Linked DNA regions of Homo sapiens: regions 1, 2 and 3 are each linked to region 4. Evidence: promoter capture Hi-C in human tissues and cell types (Jung and others, 2019). All regions are on one chromosome and are shown on one strand. The core of a region is centred on a gene start or on the middle of the fragment in contact, and the rest is flanking DNA. Distances in the headings are between cores, read along the strand shown.

Region 1 (4,462 bases), core at 167-2,666, 1.9 Mb before region 4:
TACAGGCACACGCTACCACGCCTGCTAATTTTTGTATTTTTAGTAGAGACAGGGTTTCACCATGTTGGCCAGGCTGGTCTCGAACTCTTGACCTCAGCCTCCCAAAGTGCTGGGAGCCACCACGTGGGCCACCACGCCTGCCTAATTTTTTCTTTTTTGAGGAGACGGGGTCTCACTATGTTGCCTGGGCTGGTCCTGGGCTTAAGCCATCCTCCCACTTCAGTCTCCCAAAGTGCTGGGATTACAGGTGTGAGCCACAGCGCCCAGCCTGTTTTTTGTTTTCTGATACAGGGTCTCTGTCGCCCAGGCTGGAGTGCAGTGGTGCACTCATGGTTCACTGCAGGCTTGACTTCCTCCTGGGCTGCAGTGATCCTCCCACCTCAGTCTCCTGAGTAGCTGAGAATACAGGCATGTGCCACCATGCCCAGCTAATTGTTGGCAGTTTTAATATGATTTCAGCAATATACAGAAAATACTATATATTTAGGTATTTCTGTAATTCAAAGTTTGAGACTAGACTTTGTGAAATAGATCAGCTGTAGACATATAGATTTGGGAGTTACAAGAGTAAGAAAACCCTCCTAAAATGTGTCATAGGAGCAAAAGAAATGCCTAAAACTTGGAAATATGATTAGGTTTTTTTTTTTGTTTTTGAGACAGAGTCTGGCTCTGTCACCCAGGCTGGAGTGCAGTGGTGCGATCTCAGCTCACTGCAAGCTCCGCCTCCCGGGTTCATGCCATTCTCCTGCCTCAGCCTCCCGAGTAGCTGGGACTATGAGTAGCTGGGACTACAGGCACCTGCCACCATGCCTGGCTAATTTTTTGTATTTTTAGTAGACACGGGGTTTCACCAGGTTAGCCAGGATGGTCTCGATCTCCTGACCTCGTGATCCACCCACCTCGGCCTCCCAAAGTGCTGGGATTACAGGCGTGAGCCACCGCGCCCGGCCTGAAATATGATTAGTTCTTTAGGAAAAAACACTGATAATCAAAACATTAGAGATGGTCTCTCAAACTATGCCTGGCATGACCGAAATGAGCTTTACTTCAAATGGGAATTGATTTTTTAAATTTAATTTTTATTAATTTAAACAGCCATTTGTGGCTAGTGGTGAGTATACTGAACAGTCCAGAGGAAGACTGAAACAAGTAGAGAATGACCAGAAAACATTGTGGGTGTTAACAAAGAAGAGAAATTCCAGAAAGTTGCTCATTCACCATCCCCCCACCCTTTTTTTTTTGGAGACAGTCTCGCTCTGTTACCTAGGCTGGAGTGCAGTGGTGTGATCTTAACTCACTGCAGCCTCAGCCTCCTGAGTAGCTAGGATTACAGGCACCCGCCACAATGCCCGGCTAATTTTTTTATTTTTAGTAGAGACGGGGTTTAACCATATTAGCCAGGCTGGTCTCGAACTCCTGGCCTCAAGTAATCTGCCTGCCTCAGCCTCCCAAAGTGCTAGTCTTACAGGCATGAGTCACCATGCCCAGCCTACCATCCCTTTTGAGAACTAGTTTTCATTTGGTTTTGAGACAGGGTGTCGTTCTGTTGCCCAGGCTGCAGTGCAGTGGTGTGATCGTGGCTCACCACAGCTTTGACTTCCCAGGCTCAAGTGATGCTCCCACCTCAGCTTCCCAAATAGCTGGGACCAAAGGCATGTAATTTTTTTGTAGAGAACAGATCTCACTATGTTTGCCAGGCTGGTCTTAAACTCCTGGGCTCAAGCCATCCTCCCATCCGGGCCTCCCAACATGCTGGGATTACAGGCGTGAGCCACCATGCCCAGCCAAGAACTAGTTTAAATAAGTTCTGATATAAATAGGTTGATCATAACAAGAGTTAAAATATCAAAGGCATTCATTTTGTTGTATTAAGCTTTCTTCAATGATGACTCTCAAAAGTCAACAGCAGAGTAAAGACTAAACTTGCCATTCACAAGAATCCATGAAACACAAGAGTTATAAGATGCCAACATTCTGCCTTAATACCATCTTAAAGCTCTATTATTCTTTGCTAAACCTTCTCCTTACAAGGTAAGGCTTAGTACCTAAGTAATTTACAGTAGCTGCTTCCAACATAACTAGACGAGCAGCTCTCTCGACACTTAATATTCAAAGATATTATGATCTGTGTTTCTGAGAAACAAAAAGACAAATAATGATACTGGTTAAAACATAGAAGTTTCAACATCTAGTAACAAAAAACCAAAGCAATGTTATAAAAGATGCTTTTACTGCACTTCCTGTTGTTGTCCTATATGATTAAAAGGCATGTAAAAAGGAACAGCCTGACACGCAGAGAGCTGACTGAGCAGCAACAGAAGGCTGGAAAAACAAAATGCTGGCCCGTTGCCTAGGCCGGGACAGAGGGAAGCAAGGAAATAACTTATAATAAAATAGCTCAATTTTTGCAAAAAGTTACCTGCTCCAAAATAGCGGAGTATCTGCCCAACTGTCCAGATGGTGTTTTTGGTAATAAAGCCAAAAAACTCTTTCTAAAAACATTATTAAAATCAAATAAAATATAATTTTAAAATTCAAGTAAAAAAACAAACAAGAAAGAATAGTCAAGAAAGGTATTTTTAAAACACAAAAGGGTAATTTCTTCTGTAGAAAATAATTATTTCCTTTTTTGTTCATTTATTTTATTTATTTATAATTATAAAAAAATTTTTTAGAGATGGAGGTCCCGCTATGTTGAACAGGTTGGTCTCAAACTTCTAACCTCAAGTGATCCTCCCATCTTGGCCTCCAAAGCGCTAGGATTACAAGTGCCGCAGCCAGCTGCTTTATTTTATTTTATTTTTTTTGAGACAGTTTTCACTCTTGTTGGGCAGGCTGGAGTGCAGAGGCAGGATCTTGGCTCACTGCAACCTCTGCCTCCCAGGTTCAAGAGATTCTCCTCCCTCAGCCTCCCGAGTAGCTGGGATTACGGGAACATGCCACTACGCCTGGATAATATTTTTGTATTTTTAGTAGAGATAGGGTTTCGCCATGTTGGCCCGGCTTGTCTCGAACTCCTGACCTCCGGTGATCCGCCCGCCTCAGGCTCCCAAAGTGCTGGGATTATAAGCGTAAGCCACTGTGCCCGGCCCCAAGAAAAGTATTTTTTAAAAGGAAGATTAATGAGAAGGAATCAGGCCTACCAATATTTAAAATTATAATAAAGTCTCCGTTTTAAAAATTATAATACTGGTAAATAAGCAGGAAAAAAATTATAGCCCAGAAAAGACCCAAATATATGGAAGAATTCTGTTTATAATTTGCAAAGCCCACTTAGCATGACAACCAGCAGAGATGTCAGATATATTCTCACCTTCACAATCACAAGATCAAATAGACTATAGCCTGAAAGGAGGTTCATCTAACTTTGCAGAATACTGGGCAGGAAATAGAGTATGCCACCATAGCAGCTTCAAGGATATTGTCTTCAGCAGTGATTCAGACAGCCAGAAGCCATTTTTCCATCTCCCAAGTGATGGCTCAGTTGTAAGCAAGACGACAGGGTCTAGCTTAGGTAAGCTTCATGTGTCACAGAAACCAATGTAATAAATAGCACATGACTACAGTTTCTTGGTCCCTACACAAGACAAACTGCATGCATACAAGGAAGCCAAGGCCTGTGCTTCCGAATAGAAATGTACAGTCCATTCAACAACTTCCCTACCAAGATGCAATTCCATTCAGGGATCATTCTACAATAAGCAATGCTGTCTTACAACAGAGGTGATATTTCACATTTATCTTCACCAGAGAAATACAAGAAGAGGGTAAATTCAAGGTCATCTTCCCACTAAAGAAGGGTCTTAAGCCTGGTCACCCTGCTACTCAGTAATGAAAAGATGTATAATTATTCAAGTGGCTACTAGTAGCCATCTAGAAAAAAAGTTAACTTGCCTATTTACTACATAGCTTAGATCTTAAAATTCCAGAAGGATTAAAGATTAAAATATAAAAGATGATGAAACCATACGAGTACTGGCAAAGTGGTTCTCAAAATGTGGTTTAGGGGCCCCTGGCAGGTTACTACAGACTTTTTCAGGGTGTCTCCAAGGTCCATTTTTTTTTTTCATAATACTACTAAGACCACATGTATACAGTGGAGTTTTTTGAGAGGCTGCATGACTGGATATTATATAGTATAATAAAAAGTGTCAATATTTGCAAGATCTGTATAACTCAGTGACCTAGTATATTACAAACAATAAATGCATATATTAAAAAGTCATGCATAGGGGCTACATACTATATGGTTCCAACTATATGACATTCTGGAAAAAGCAAAATTATGAAGGCAGTAAAAAGAGCAGTGGTTGCCAGGAGTAAGTGGGGGAGGGATGAACAGACAAAGTACAGAGGACTCTTACGGTGATGAAACTAATCTGCATGATACTATAATGATGGATACGTGTCATGACGTATTTGTCAAAACCCATAAAATGTATAACACCCGGAGTGAACCCTA
Region 2 (4,918 bases), core at 517-3,016, 1.6 Mb before region 4:
GTTTTTTTTCTTTCTTCAATCACAATTTCAGAAGAAATTGTTAATGGCCCTATTAACTGATTCTCAATAGAAACAAATAATAGAAATGAGTTTCAGGCTAGAGCTTTGACAATTCAGTCCCCTTCTTTCTCCTCTCTGCCAGAAACTAAGGTATCGACTTCTATTTCGTGTGTATGAGAACAAAAACCAGGAAAAGTTTCTGTTAGAAAATGCCTTGTGTAGAGATAAAATTTTGAACACCTTTTTTCTAAGTGTTTCATAAGTATGTAGGTATTTTTGCTGTCGCCTTTTATGTTAGATGGAGTTTCTACTTCTGGCTCTTCTGTGAACATTAAACAAGATCATTTAGCTGCTTCATTTCCATGTAACCATGATAATGAAATAGTAATAGTTTGGGATAGAACTTGGGTTTTTTAACCAAGCCTATTAACCATATTCGCTGGTGACTAGATTGTACCAACATTACTCATTCTTTTTCTGACTTCCAACTCTTCTCTGTTTTATCTAATTCATCTGTTGACTATTTAATGATACTCTGTAGTGGCTCAAGAGATCTAGATGTTACCCTTGGATAGTTTGTAGTATACAGGTAAAGATAGACAAGTGTGATCAGGGCTATGTTAGAAGTTGAGGCTGGGCATGGTAGTTCTCATCTATAATCCCAGCACTTTGGAAGGCTGAGGTGGGAGAATCACTTGAGCCCAGGAGCTCTCGACCAGCCTGGGTAACATAACGAGACTCTATCTCTAAAAAAAGAAAAAACGTAGCCAGGCACAGTAGCACATGTCTATAGTTCCAGCTACAAGGGAGGCTGAGGCGAGAGGATCATTTGAGCCTGGGAGGTCAAGGCTGCAGTGTGCCATGATTACACCACTGCACTACAGGCTGAGCAACAGAATGAGAACTTGTCTGGAAAAAAAAAAAGGTTAGCACCAAGTATTACGGTGAGAGGATAGAAAGGGAACCATGTAAATTGAACTTTGAAAGTCCAGAAGATTTCTGCTGGGATGTGGCACTTTAATAATTAGTTAATTATGGTTAACAGAAGTAAAAAGTTGAAAGGTGATTCCTAAAAGAGGTAACAACTAGGGGTAGAATAGAAGACATTATTACTGTATAGGACTGTACAGTAAAACATCCTGTGTAGTCCTAGAACTGCAAATATTCTGATGTGGCTGGAATAACAGATTCATATATTGAAGGCTGTAGACCTGGATTGGAGACGTATCTTGAAGGGCCTTGGGTACAAAACTCAGGAGTTGAACTTTATACCAAACTATGGAGAAACCTCCAAAGATTCAAGTAGAACAGAGCAAGTGATCAGCTGACACTATTTTGAAAATCAGGGCCACATTTAAACGGAGGACATTTACAAATAAGTCATATAGGTTGGGCATGGTGGCTCACGCCTGTAATCCCAGCACTTTGGGAGGCCACAGTGGGCGGATCACCTGAGGTCAGGAGTTCGAGACCAGCCTGGCCAACATGGCGAAACCCTGTCTCTACTAAAAATACAAAAATTAGCCGGGCATGGTGTTGGGCATCTGTAATTCCAGCTACTCAGGAGGCTGACGCAGGAGCTTTGCTTGAACCTGGGAGGCGGAGGTTGCAGTGAGCCAAGATGACACCATTGCACTCCAGCCTGAATAACAAGAGTGAAACTCTGTCTCAAATAAATAAATACATACATACATACATAAAACAAAATAAATAAGCCATATAGTCAGTGAATTTGCTTTAGAAAAAGTTCATATGATACCTTGCTTAGCAGTAGTCCTAACTGCAGTCAGTAAAACATCCATTAAATTGGGAGAAAATAAAATCCATTTACAGTTCTAGATTTTAAGCATAATGCTCTATATGTTTTTACAGTGTGTTAATTATTACTCAGGTGTCAGTATAGCAAATGGGCTTTTGATCATCATTGTATGCATGATGATTCTGTACGGTGGTATCTATTATTTCTTTTCATGACGTTTCTTTCCTTTTGGACAGTATTAACATATCTTTGAGGTCAGTGTACCTGAAAATTGTTCCTTGAATATTTGTGGTTATATAAAAGAATCAGATTATCATCTTAAAAATACTTTTTACCATCTTGAGCATTTTATATTTTGTTCTGTTAGATATAAAAGGTTCTTATACCATGTATTAATAATTTATCACACATATCAAATTACATTTGTCCTTTTTTTGTTTTTTTGTTTTTGTTTTTGTTTTTATTTTTGTTTTTTTGAGATAGTCTTGCTCTGTCACCCAGGCTGGAGTGCAGTGGAATGATCTCGGCTCACTGGAACCTCTACGTCCTGGGTTCAAGTGATGCTCCTGCCTCAGCCTTCCAAGTAGCTGGGATTACAGGCTTGCACCACCACACCTGGCTAATTTTTGTATTTTTAGTAGAGACGGGTTTTGCCATGTTACCCAGGCTGGTCTCAAACTCCTGACCTTAAGTGATCCACCCGCCTTGGCCTCCCAAAGTGCTAGGATTACAAGTGTGAGCCACCGTGCCTGGCCTACATTTGTACTTTTTAAACAGCCTTTATTTTAGTTTTATTAGTAGCATTTTAGATTTTCAAACAATAAAATTAATAGAAGTTATTACATTTTCATATTTCACTGTGATTTTCCTATCTGTTCTAGATGCTGAGTCCTATAAAATTAAAATGGGTTTACACTAGCTGTTAATTTTGTCATCAGTGCAGAATCATTGACAATTATTACTTCAAAGATAAACAAGTAGCATTTTGAAATATAGCCTATGTTCAACATAGCTTCTCCCTCTGTTGGCATTCTTCATTTTTCTGTCCTGGAATTTTAGTCGTGACTGTTCAGTGTAAAACTCCTGAATGAGTTGAAATTTATCAGATCATATCCTCACCCGTAGAGTTCATTAAGTTATGTGACATGTTTCTCTTTTGCCTCCTCATGACTGAGATACATGATGTGGCAGAGCTTGCAGTTCTTCTGGGTTTTTTTTGTTTTGTTTTAAGAATTAAAATTTTAGTTATTCTCAATGGATGTTAGAGGGGAAGATATACTATTCTGACTACTATCAAGTGTAGGAGAAATTTATATGTATTGTGTGTGTGTTCTATATTTAAAAATTGAATAATACTGTATAAGCGATTATGCAATAATTTTTTTCTGAATTTTCCTAAATCTGTATATAATTTTCTATCTAGCATATGAAAGATGCTTAGTAAATAAATGTTTACTTCATAAACTTAGTAAAATGTTTACTAAGCATCTTTCATATGCTAGATAGAAAATTATATATAGATTAACTTAGTCTTTTTATCCTCTGCATAGTATTCCATTATGATTATGCTATGATTTATTCCTGTATTTTTTTTTTTTTTTAAAGTCTTGCTCTTGTCACCCAGGCTGGAGTGTAATAGCGTGATTTTGGCTCACTTCAACCTCCGCCTCCTGGGTTCAAATGATTCTCATGCCTCAGCCTCCTGAGTAGCTGGGATTACAGGCACCCGCCACCACACCCAGCTAATTTTTTTGTATTTTTAGTAGAGACTAGGTTTCACCATGTTGGCCAGGCTGCTCTCGAACTCCTGACCTCAGGTGATCCACCTGCCTCAGCCTCCCAAAGTGCTGGGATTACAGGCATGAGCCACCGCACCCAGCCTATTCCTGTATCTTTTAAAACCATATTGCTATAGCCAAAAAGTCATTTTCAAAGGCAAGAGGAATACTAATGATGGATGGTTATCTAGTAATTGATGGTTCTGATAGCATTGTAATATGAACAACAGGTCTCTTAAGTCAAAGATTCTTTTGTTCATAATGTATTACAGTTCCAGATGCCTTTAACTTCTTGTACAGTTAGTACTCACTTAATGTTGTCTTTAGGTTCTTGGAAACTGCAACTTTAAGTGAAAGGGTATAGAACAAAACTAATTTTACCATAGGCAAACAAGAGTTAAGTTCCTACAGCATATTTCTAGTCACAAAAATATCACCAAACTTCTAAATAAAGACCCCAAGCACTTCTAATATTAAGCTTTGAAATAAATGTGAACTATAAACAGATCTAAGAAAGATTGATAAAAACAAGATAATTATTTACCCAGTTTTTGGTGAATTAGTGAGTGACAGCAGCAGTCATAGTGGTGATGGGTTAAATCAAGGGATAAATTTGCAAAATGAAAATTATAAGGAACACCTCCTACCACCTTGCAGTTCAAAAACTAACAATAACAAATATGGGAGGCTCATTGAGTACTTTCTCAGCATATCATTTATTATCATGCATTTGTATGATCATTGCATACTTGTTATTTTATGGTAATTTGTATTCATTTCCAACCCGCTTATTCCAGTTCAGGTTAGTGGCTGGCCAGAGCCTATCCCTGCAGCTCAGGGTACAAGACAGGAACCAACCCTGGACAAGACTCCATCCCACTGAAGGGCGCGCTCACACGTATATCCACACTCACTCATACTGGGACAATTTATTTAATTTTTTCATTTTTTTGTTTTTTTACATCACAGCATTGTTACGTGAATTGTTTACAATACAAACAAAAAGGGCATATATGCTATATATGAATACAGCTCAGTGAAAAATAGTGACTTCTTCTCTTTAAAAGGCCATGATTCTTATTTCTAGTAAACTAAAGAGACCGCAGGTTGGTCTTTATCTTCTCAGTGTTTCCTAGAAGTGATCTGTAAATGCATCTTCCTCCTTCCTCCTGCTACTTACCATAAAATGTGTAAAGGGAGCTAAAGGAAAGCTTCCTTGCTGGTTCCTACCATGTGAAACATGCTATATTCTATTTTAGCTGGGCCAATATGTGGAAAATACCTAAATTTAAGTGTTATTACAAAAATGAAGCAATAATGAGATTCTGGCTAAAGGGGCCACTAAATAAGAATAATATATATTTAAAGGATTGTGTAAAAA
Region 3 (4,266 bases), core at 1,013-3,512, 1.3 Mb after region 4:
CTCCAAATCTCTCATGTATATAACCAGAAGTAGAACTGCTGACCACACAATAAATCTATGTTTAATTTTTTGAGAAACTACCACAGTGCTTTGTACAGTGGCTACACCATTTTATATTTCCATCAGCAACACGTAAGGGTTCCAACAGCCTTCATTTTTAAATGGAAACTTTATAATCATAATTCATGCACTTGGGTTGAACATCGCATCTCCTGACTCTTTTTTCATACAAATATTCTATGAGTAGCATTATACAAAGACAAGCACTTTAGTATGAATTTTTTTTTCAAGTAGAAAATATCAGAGGGGTGGCATGTAAAGAGGGAAAAGAATGGGGGGAAGGCACAGCTCACAGACATAAAGAATAAATCTGGCACTTTTTTCCCCCCTAGAACCACATGGCTCCTCCAACTCAAAGCCTTAAGTTCAAAAAATTTATGGACTAAAACTTCAGAACTGTAAAATAAAATTGTTAGAAAATGCTGTTGCAACAGTTGACGGATCATTACAACAGCCACTTAGCAAGCCATAAACTCACTGGGCAAACAGAATTGGGTCAGATATTAATTTCCACAATGGGAGGGTAACCAGAGACAAGTTACTTCGCCATCTCTCCCTTTTCTGATCATCTGGTGAGCTTCCATTGCAGGAATGCCACAGGATCTTCCGTTTAGGAAATGAAGGCTGCAGTTCCCTCAAATATAAACAAAGACAAGATTTCCCATATCCAACACTATTACCGAACAAAATGGAAGTGCAAATAGAAATATACGTTTAATTTAAATGTCTGAGCCCAGCTCTGTTTCTACAAACTGCAATTTGGTTCCACATTCATTCCCTGGCCATTGAAAGCCAACCTCATTTTGTTTACAAAGATACTGCCCACCACTGGGTTCCGTGCAGTTCCACGAGCCATTCACATATTCTCAGTTCCAGAAGGAAAAGTCAAGACCACAGGCCAACAAGGTAGACCCCTTTCCTAATAGCCAATTATCCCAATCCCAGAGATAAATTCTGGCTTTTCCAGGAGACCTCAGTTTTATGTATTTTCTAGATTTTGACCAAAATAATTTGTAGAAATATGTAAGAAAATGGAATTCCATTTTTCTATCTTTGTAAGCCTGACCATACACATATATAAAATGATCCAGGACAGGGCCTTAGGGCATGTGTTCCAATTTTGGGCTCAGAACGTACAGTCAAACCTTGAACAACACAAGTGTAAACCATGTGGGTCCACTTATATGTGGATTTTCTTCCACCTCTGCACCCCTGAGACAGCAAAACCATCCCTCTTCTTCCTTCTCATCAGCCCACTCAATGTGAAGATAACAAGTCTGAAGTCCTTTATGATGATCCACTTCCACTTAAAGAATAGTAAATATATTTTCTCTTCCTTATGATTTTCCTTTTTTTTTTTTTTTTTGAGACAAGGTCTTGCTCTGTCACCCAGGCTTGAGTGCAGTGGCATGATCTTGCCTCAATGTAACCTCTGCATCCTGGGTTCAAGTCATCCTCCCACCTCAGTATCCTGAGTAGCTGGGACTACAGGCATGAGCCACCATGCCCAGGCTAATTTTTTTTTTTTTATTTTTTGTAAAGACAGGGTTTCACCATGTTATCCAGGCTGTCTCGAACTTCTGAGCTCAGTCCATCTGCCCGCCTTGGCCTTCCAAAGTACTGGGTTTACAAGCATGAGCTACTGCACTCAGCCATGATTTTCTTAACATTTTCTTTTGTCTAGCTTACTTTATTGTAAAAATGCAGTATATAATACATATATAAAGCATGTGTAATCAACTGTTGATGTTATCAGTAGGCTCTAGTTGATGATAGGTTAAGTAGTTACATTTTGGGGTACTCAAAAGTTATACGCAGATTTTCAACTGTGCAGGGGGGCCGTAACCCTTGAGTTGTTCAAGTGTCAACAACATATTAACTGTGCACAACATACCCCCCACTCAGTTCAGCTAGGATCCCTTCAGAAAGGAAGCAGATGGGAGATACTCCTGACCTCCCCATATTCCGAGTTAATATTCCACTTGTTACAATCCATAGCAAATTTTATGGACAAGTTATAACCGTCAGAATTAAGCAGCTCACACAGAAATCTGCATCTTCACCTTAACCATGTGGCATCTACGCATCCCATAATTAGCCTCTGCTGAATGAATATTAAGTTGTACGCAGGTACAAAGGGTCAATTATATCACCAAATGAAGAAAAGAGAAGACACTTGTCTTGGCCTCTGGTTCTGTCTTAAATTAACTTTTAATATTGAACAAAATGTTATATTCGCTCTTCCCATATTCTAAAAATTTCTCTTCTGTGGAAGCAATAAGATATTTTTAAAATTTAATAGAACTAAGAAACTGTAGAAGAATCACTCCATGGGCATAAAGCCTAGTTCTAACATTTTCTCTTCATGGGTTCACACAAAACACTCAGAAACACTGCCCACCTCAGTGCTACCAGATTAAATGAGTTGAGATGCTATGGCCCTCACGGGCCAGGAGAGCATCTGGGGACAAGAGACAAGTCAGCTGTGCAGCTAAAAGTGGAACCTGGAGCCCTTGGACAGCCCCAACAAAGCCAAAACCCTACTCAGCAAGGGAGAGCCCCTAAACCAAGGGCTGACTAGCCTCTCCTAGAGATCAGAGGCTCGGAGAAGTTAGGAAAAGGCAAAACTGTTCAAGAGAAAAAGTTTCACCTATTATACCCCTGGGCCTCAAGCCCTTTCTGATGTGAGGCAGGGTAGAAAATCCACCAATAAACAAATTAAACACACAAGCACGAGCATGTGGCAGCAGCCCAGCTCCTTCCTTAAGTCCTAAAACTGCAGTCTAAGGAAGACCCAGGCTTGCTCCAAGTAGCTGCAGACATCTGGCTTCTGAAGCCCCCATCATAATAAAACATGGGTGCAACCCCCAGTGCCTCCTCGCCTGCTCTGGGCAGCCACTCCCTCACCACACGTGAAGGCACGGAGCTTTCTGGAAAACAGGGTCTACAGCACTTCTCTGGTGCCAAACCCTGGGACACCTGAGGATTTCCTAAGAGATAAGATGGAGGGCCAGGCTCCCTGAGTTGCCTGTGAAGAGTTTCCCAGAATACCCCACATCACAAATAAAGGTGCTGAGTGGCATCACGAGGGGTGGGGAGCTCAGCATAGTGGGTGACAGGCTAAGGCAGCAAATAGGAGAACACTCATAAAGAAATTTTAAACTATATTCATTGCAAAAGAAAGCAGAGTAAGCCAACCATAAAGGAAATGGTAGTGGGGTCACCAAGGGCTCGACAGGGCTTCAGCCAGGGCCTCAACAATTGGGATTTCCGAAAGGGAAGCAGCAATGCCTGCTGTAGCTGCCAGGATCCTATAGTTTGGGGTGTCATCACTTGACCTCAGCCACTGGATGGCAGATGCAATTCCCCTACCCATGACTGGGTACAAACTTTGCCATCAAGTGCTATTAATCTCACTACCAGCTTTTATTGAGGACTCACTCAGACAACCTTGGCAGGGAGGCAGTACTGGGACATCCATTTTATAGTTGAAGAAACTAAGACTCAGACAGGTAAGTCCGCCCCCCAGAATTACAGAATTACAGAAGTTGGTAACTGGACTTGGAGCCTTTGTCTTTCTGACTTTAAGACCCATGCTCTTAACTATCAATCACCCTATTCTATCTCCCTTGTAGCTGAATTCAATAATATTAAAGCTGAATTCAATAAAATTAAATTTTAAAAATAAATAAAGATTAAAATGCCCATATTGAGTTGGAACAAAGATATGCCACCATGAGACCCAGACAGCTTGATGGGCTGGCTCTCAGCAGAGATGTGCCCCACTCCCCAAACCCAAGCAGTGGGACCTAGGGGATTTGGGGAATCGGAGAGAGTGCATAAGATGCAGGGTCATTCCTCCGGGAGTGGCGGGAGAAAGGAAGGGGCCCCTGCCACTGGGATGGCAGGACCACCTGTTCACCTGCTCTGCTGAACAGTTCCCATTCTCCCACCCAAGTTCTGGCCAGCAATGGCATCAAGAGACTTTTGTGGGTGAACAGAGTTGCCCTCTATAAAACCAATCGCAAAGTATAAGGAACAGCCCTCTATAAAACCAATCTCAAAGTATGAGGAACACTCCTCAAAAGATGATACGTTGCTAGGGCTGGGCCCTAGCAACATATCATCTTCGATTTCACCTACAATCTTCTTGACCATATTTACATTTTAACATGTACAACACTTTAGGTACAGACACTTCTATAA
Region 4 (4,685 bases), core at 19-2,518:
AAGAGAATATTCTTTCTATGCTTCCTCAAGATTCCGGGGATTCTACTCTCTTTCTCATTCTTAGTGTCTCTAGTCCTACACAAAATCCTGCATTTCTGAAATTTAACCCTTACCCCTTGGATCTTGGAACAGCAAAAATTAGACAACCAATTCTGACTCCAGTATTTCCTAACCCAGTTAGCATGAAAAGTTACCTAAGCTCCCCAAGATATCAGTTCTCTCATCCATATACTGAATATAATAATCTACGTAAGCGGGTTGAGGGTTAAATGAGACAATCCTCAAAGCATTCAGCAGGCATTGCCAGAGGAAAAGCAATTAGTAAATGTTTTCACGACCACAGTTCTCCTAACCATTCAGACAACTTGTAAGTGGAGTCGAGGAGCTCTTTCACGCTGTAAACATGGACGTGGGAGGAAGCAGAATCTAACGGAGACTGGGCTGAAGGCCGAGGCGAGAGAACGAAGACTGAGGCGGCGCTGACGGCGGCCGGTGTGCCTCAGCTTGCCATCAGGAGTCGTTACCTTTGCTAAGCTCGGAGGGTTTCACCTCTAGGAGTTCCTCAGCAGTCTGGAACCCCGCAGACACCAGCTTCACCCGCACCGCTGGAGACAGCGGGAAACTCACCAAATCCCGCTGCATTTCAAAGCGGAACGTCTTCCCGCGCATCGCAGGCTCACCTGCTAACCCCGGAGCAGCCAAACTCCGCACGCCCTCGCTGGGGCGTGCGGCGTGACGTCAGACGTAAAGCGGAAGGGGCCGGCTCTGCGGCCTGGCCGCACGGGGCTCCGGGCCTTGCAGCTTTGCGCAGTCTTGTAAATTTTCACACTTATGCACCATTCCGTTTTGATTCCCCAAAATCCCATTTAGAGATTCCTCATCAAATGTACACCCTGACTGTAAAACGATGGACGGAGACCATAGGACGGAGAGCCAGGCCCAGTGGGTTCTCCACGCCACATTTCCTTGCCTCCACCGTGGCCTGTTAGGTGAAGCCTCAGAGTCATTAATAGGAATGATCTCGAGTGGGAGTAGTGAGCGTAACGGGCACACACTAGCCAGTTACCATTATTTTGGTGTGAAAAGCTCAGGGAACAATCATTAGAATTAATCTGCGTGCTCTTTGTAGAGTTGCAGTCTCTTGGCTCTTCCCGCTGACCGTCCCCCTTTTCTGACCCCCCCCCCCCGCAACGACCACATTGCTTTTCCCGCCCTCGCGAGGGATTGTGGGCCAGCCCCCAACGGCCGCTGGGAGGGATCAGTCCGCATTCCCCGCACCCACCCACGTCTTCCCGGGAGTCGTATCCCGAGCATGGAGGTTACTGAGACCGTTATTTCTTCATGGCCTGCCTAGCTTAAGCAGTAGCTGGAAAAGTAAGCAACTAATGTCCCCATTAGTGTGTCTGGGCTCCTGGGGTCCTGAGAAGGAGGGGCTGGGCTACACAAGAGCTCCTTTTGTGGTACAGACTTGGGAAGGGGTGTTCAAGCAGTGGTAGTGACCGCCTCTAAATTACAGAACTTCGGGGAGGAAGGCAAGCAGTTTAGAAGGTGGTTTATGAGTTCCTTCCTTGCCTAGGTGAGTGTAACTTATTTAGCAGGGGGTAACTTATTCCCTACCTATTGGCGATTTTTTTTTTTTTTTTTTTGAGACAGAGTCTCACTGTGTTGCCCATGATGGAGTGCAGTGGCACGATGTCGGCTCACTGCAACCTTCGCCTCCCGGGTTCAAGTGAGTCTCCTGCCTCAGCCTCTTGAGTACCTGGGATTACAGGCGCACGCCACCATGCCCGGCTAATTTTTGTATTATTATTAGAGAAGGGGTTTCACCATATTGGCCAGGCTGGTCTCGAACTCCTGACCTCGTGATCCGCCTGCCTCGGCCTCCCAAAATGCTGGGAGTACAGGCGTGAGCCACCGCGCCCGGCCCTGTTGGCAATGATTCTTAGTCTTGACTTTTCTTCCCAGCTTAGAAGAACTTTCTAAATATTGCAAATCAGAGCCCTCTACATACTTAGATCTAAAAAAGGAAACAACGTATGTTGAGCACTTTAGCAAATCCCACACATTTCAAATGGCCATAGCCATGCCAAAAGGAAGATAAGGACATGGAAGCTCAGCATATAGTTTAATATCAATTCTGATAAAAGAAAAAAAGCTGGCCGGGCGCAGTGGCTCGTGCCTGTAATCCCAGCACTTTGGGAGGTCGAGGCAGGTGGATCTCTTTGAGCTCATGAGTTTGAGACCAGCCTCGACAACATGGCGAAACACTGTCTGTACCAAAAGTACAAAAAATTAGCCGGGCATGGTGGCATGCACCGGTCGTCCCAGCTACTCAGAAGTCTGTGGTGGGAGGATCCCTTCAGCCTGGGAGTGAGCTATGATCACGCCACTGCACTCCAGCTTGGGTGATAGAGTGAAACCCTGTCTCAAACAAACAAAACACCTCAGCACAGTTTTCTTAAAGCCAAGATTCAAACCTAGCATCCTTTTTACTACCCCGAGCTATTAAGATTTTGAGTCCCTACTGGCGGGGAGAATACGAGAAGCATTTATACCCCATTTGGTAGGTCAAAGAAAGTCTTGTAGGACTGGCCAAAATGTGGTTGGCCACTCAACCCATTGCTTAACTTCTAATATGGTCTATATTTGAGCGCTCAGTGGATGCATAAATACTATCTTCAGGGAGATTTCATGCTTATGCTTATAAAGCACCCAGATTCTTGGGTGAAGAAAAAACATGGTATTACCACATTCAACAATAAGTCTTCAGTTAGTTTGGTCAAACTCAGTGGAATCAGTCGTGTTTAGAATTTCTTTCGTTGACAGTGGAAAGTTCAAAACTACTTTGGCCTGGCACAGTGGCTTAAGCCTGGAATCCAAGCACTTTGGGAGGCCAAAGAGGGCACATCGCTTGATCTCAGGAGTTTGAGACCAGCCTGGGCAACAGGGCAAAACCCCATCTCTACAAAAAATACAAAAATTAGCCAGCATGGTGGTACATGCCTCTAGTCCCAGCTACTTGGGAGGCTGAGGTGGGAGAACCAATTGAGCCCGGGAGGTTGAGGTTGCAGTGAGCTGAGATTGCGTAACTCCACTCCAATCTGGGCGACAGAGCGAGACTCCATCTCAAAAACAAAACAAAGCAAAATAAAAAAAACAAAAAAACCCCCACTCAACTCTATCTATAGCTGTATAATTTAAGTGCTATTAATATCTTCTGCAGATCACAAGGTCAGGAGATCGAGACCATCCTGGCTAACATGATGAAACCCCGTCTCTACTAAAAATACAAAAAATTAGCTGGGTGCGGTGGTGGGCGCCTGTAGTCCCAGCTACTCGGGAGGCTGAGGCAGGAGAATTGCATGAACCCAGGAGGCGGAGCTTGCAGTGAGCCTAGATCACGCCACCACATTCCAGCCTGGGCGACAGAGCGAGACTCCATCTCAGAAAAAAAAAAAAAAAAAATCTTCTGGCCCTTGCCTATAATAATTATTTTCATCATCATTCTTAAGATGTCTTTAATGCAATTTGCTCTGTAGTCATGCTTTCAAACTGGGATCCAGGTTTTTGAAACCACGCACTAGGAACTAAACAAAGCTATGGGATAAATATGGAAGGTGCACCTTCTTGTGTAATCACTTTTCTCAAAAAAAATCTTTCAGGGAGGGAAGAGTTAAATGATTTACCTAAGTCATTTGAAATGGTTTATATTAAGCAGACATTACATCTGTGTAGTGTGGATAAATCATTAAAATTTTTGAAAAAGAAAATAAACTTTAATAAAACATGGGGTAGGCCGGGCACGGTGGCTCACTCCTGTAATCCTAGCACTTTGGGAGGCCAAGGCGGGTGGATCATGAGGTCAAGAGATCAAGACCATCCTGGCCAACATGACGAAACCCTGTCTCTACTAAAAACACAAAAATTAGCTGGGCATGTTGATGTGTGCCTATAGTCCCAGCTACTTAGGAGGCTGAGGCAGGAGAATAGCTTGAACCCAGGAGGCAGAGGTTGCAGTGAGTGAGATCAGGCCACTGCACTCTAGCCTGGAAACAGAGAGAGACTCCCTCTAAAAATAAATAAATTAGCTGAGCGTGATGTCTCACGCCTGTTTCACAGCACTTTGGGAGGCCGAGGTGGGCGGATCACGAGATCAGGAGATAGACTATCCTGGCTAACACGGTGAAACCCCATCTCTACTAAAAATACAAAAAATTAGCCGGGTGTGGTGGCAGGCACCTGTAGTCCCAGCTACTTGGGAGGCTGAGGCAGGAGAATGGTGTGAACCCGGGAGGCAGAGCTTGCAGTGAGCCAAGATCATGCCACTGCACTCCAGCCTCTGTGACAGAGCGAGACTCCATCTCAAAAAAAAATATATGTATAGAAATAAAAACAAAATGTGGGGGTAAAATGCAAATATAAAAATAAAATTTAAGAGAAAAGTATGAGGTCAGAGACACATCAGGCTTAAACTGGATACTTCAGTAATCTCCCAAACCCCCCCCGGGAATATGTTTTGGTTTTTCTTGCAACTTGAGGTTACTTCATGAAAAAATTTGAGAGACATTGCTATGGGCAAACCAGCATGGGCTGCGGAGTCACACAGATTTGGATTTGTATCACATGTCTGGAAGTTACCAACTATGTGACCTTCAGCAAGTTACTCAGTCTCCTCACCTGCAAGT

The links. Contacts are between HindIII fragments. The study calls those that stand out against the background at their distance.
Region 1: a contact is called between a fragment that was not itself captured here and the fragment with the promoter of TEX14 in region 4, in 1 of the 25 tissues and cell types used here (hippocampus).
Region 2: a fragment that was not itself captured here is called in contact with the fragment with the promoter of TEX14 in region 4 in 1 of the 25 tissues and cell types used here (aorta).
Region 3: a fragment that was not itself captured here is called in contact with the fragment with the promoter of TEX14 in region 4 in 1 of the 25 tissues and cell types used here (bladder).

What each region holds. Positions count from the first base shown.
Region 1 is chr17:60,628,385-60,632,846 of GRCh38, reverse strand. The region is part of intron 2 of PPM1D (protein phosphatase, Mg2+/Mn2+ dependent 1D); the gene reads right to left. Among named protein-coding and RNA genes, the nearest start is that of PPM1D, 30 kb to the right of the region's middle. The HindIII fragment of the contact is 6,347 bases long and covers 1-4,462 here.
Region 2 is chr17:60,258,961-60,263,878 of GRCh38, reverse strand. All of the region lies in intron 9 of USP32 (ubiquitin specific peptidase 32), which reads left to right. Among named protein-coding and RNA genes, the nearest start is that of CA4, 110 kb to the right of the region's middle. The HindIII fragment of the contact is 5,233 bases long and covers 1-4,382 here.
Region 3 is chr17:57,358,767-57,363,032 of GRCh38, reverse strand. All of the region lies in intron 5 of MSI2 (musashi RNA binding protein 2), which reads right to left. Among named protein-coding and RNA genes, the nearest start is that of MSI2, 100 kb to the right of the region's middle. The HindIII fragment of the contact is 4,832 bases long and covers 1-4,266 here.
Region 4 is chr17:58,688,628-58,693,312 of GRCh38, reverse strand. It overlaps TEX14 (testis expressed 14, intercellular bridge forming factor), which reads left to right and starts at 1,268. Exons shown (of 32, transcript NM_031272.5): 1 at 1,268-1,374. It overlaps IGBP1C (IGBP1 family member C), which reads left to right and starts at 1,268. Exons shown (of 2, transcript NM_001395966.1): 1 at 1,268-1,374. It overlaps RAD51C (RAD51 paralog C), which reads right to left and starts at 711. Exons shown (of 9, transcript NM_058216.3): 1 at 525-711. The coding sequence starts at 669. RefSeq lists enhancers at 354-523, 854-953. The HindIII fragment of the contact is 12,262 bases long and covers 1-4,685 here.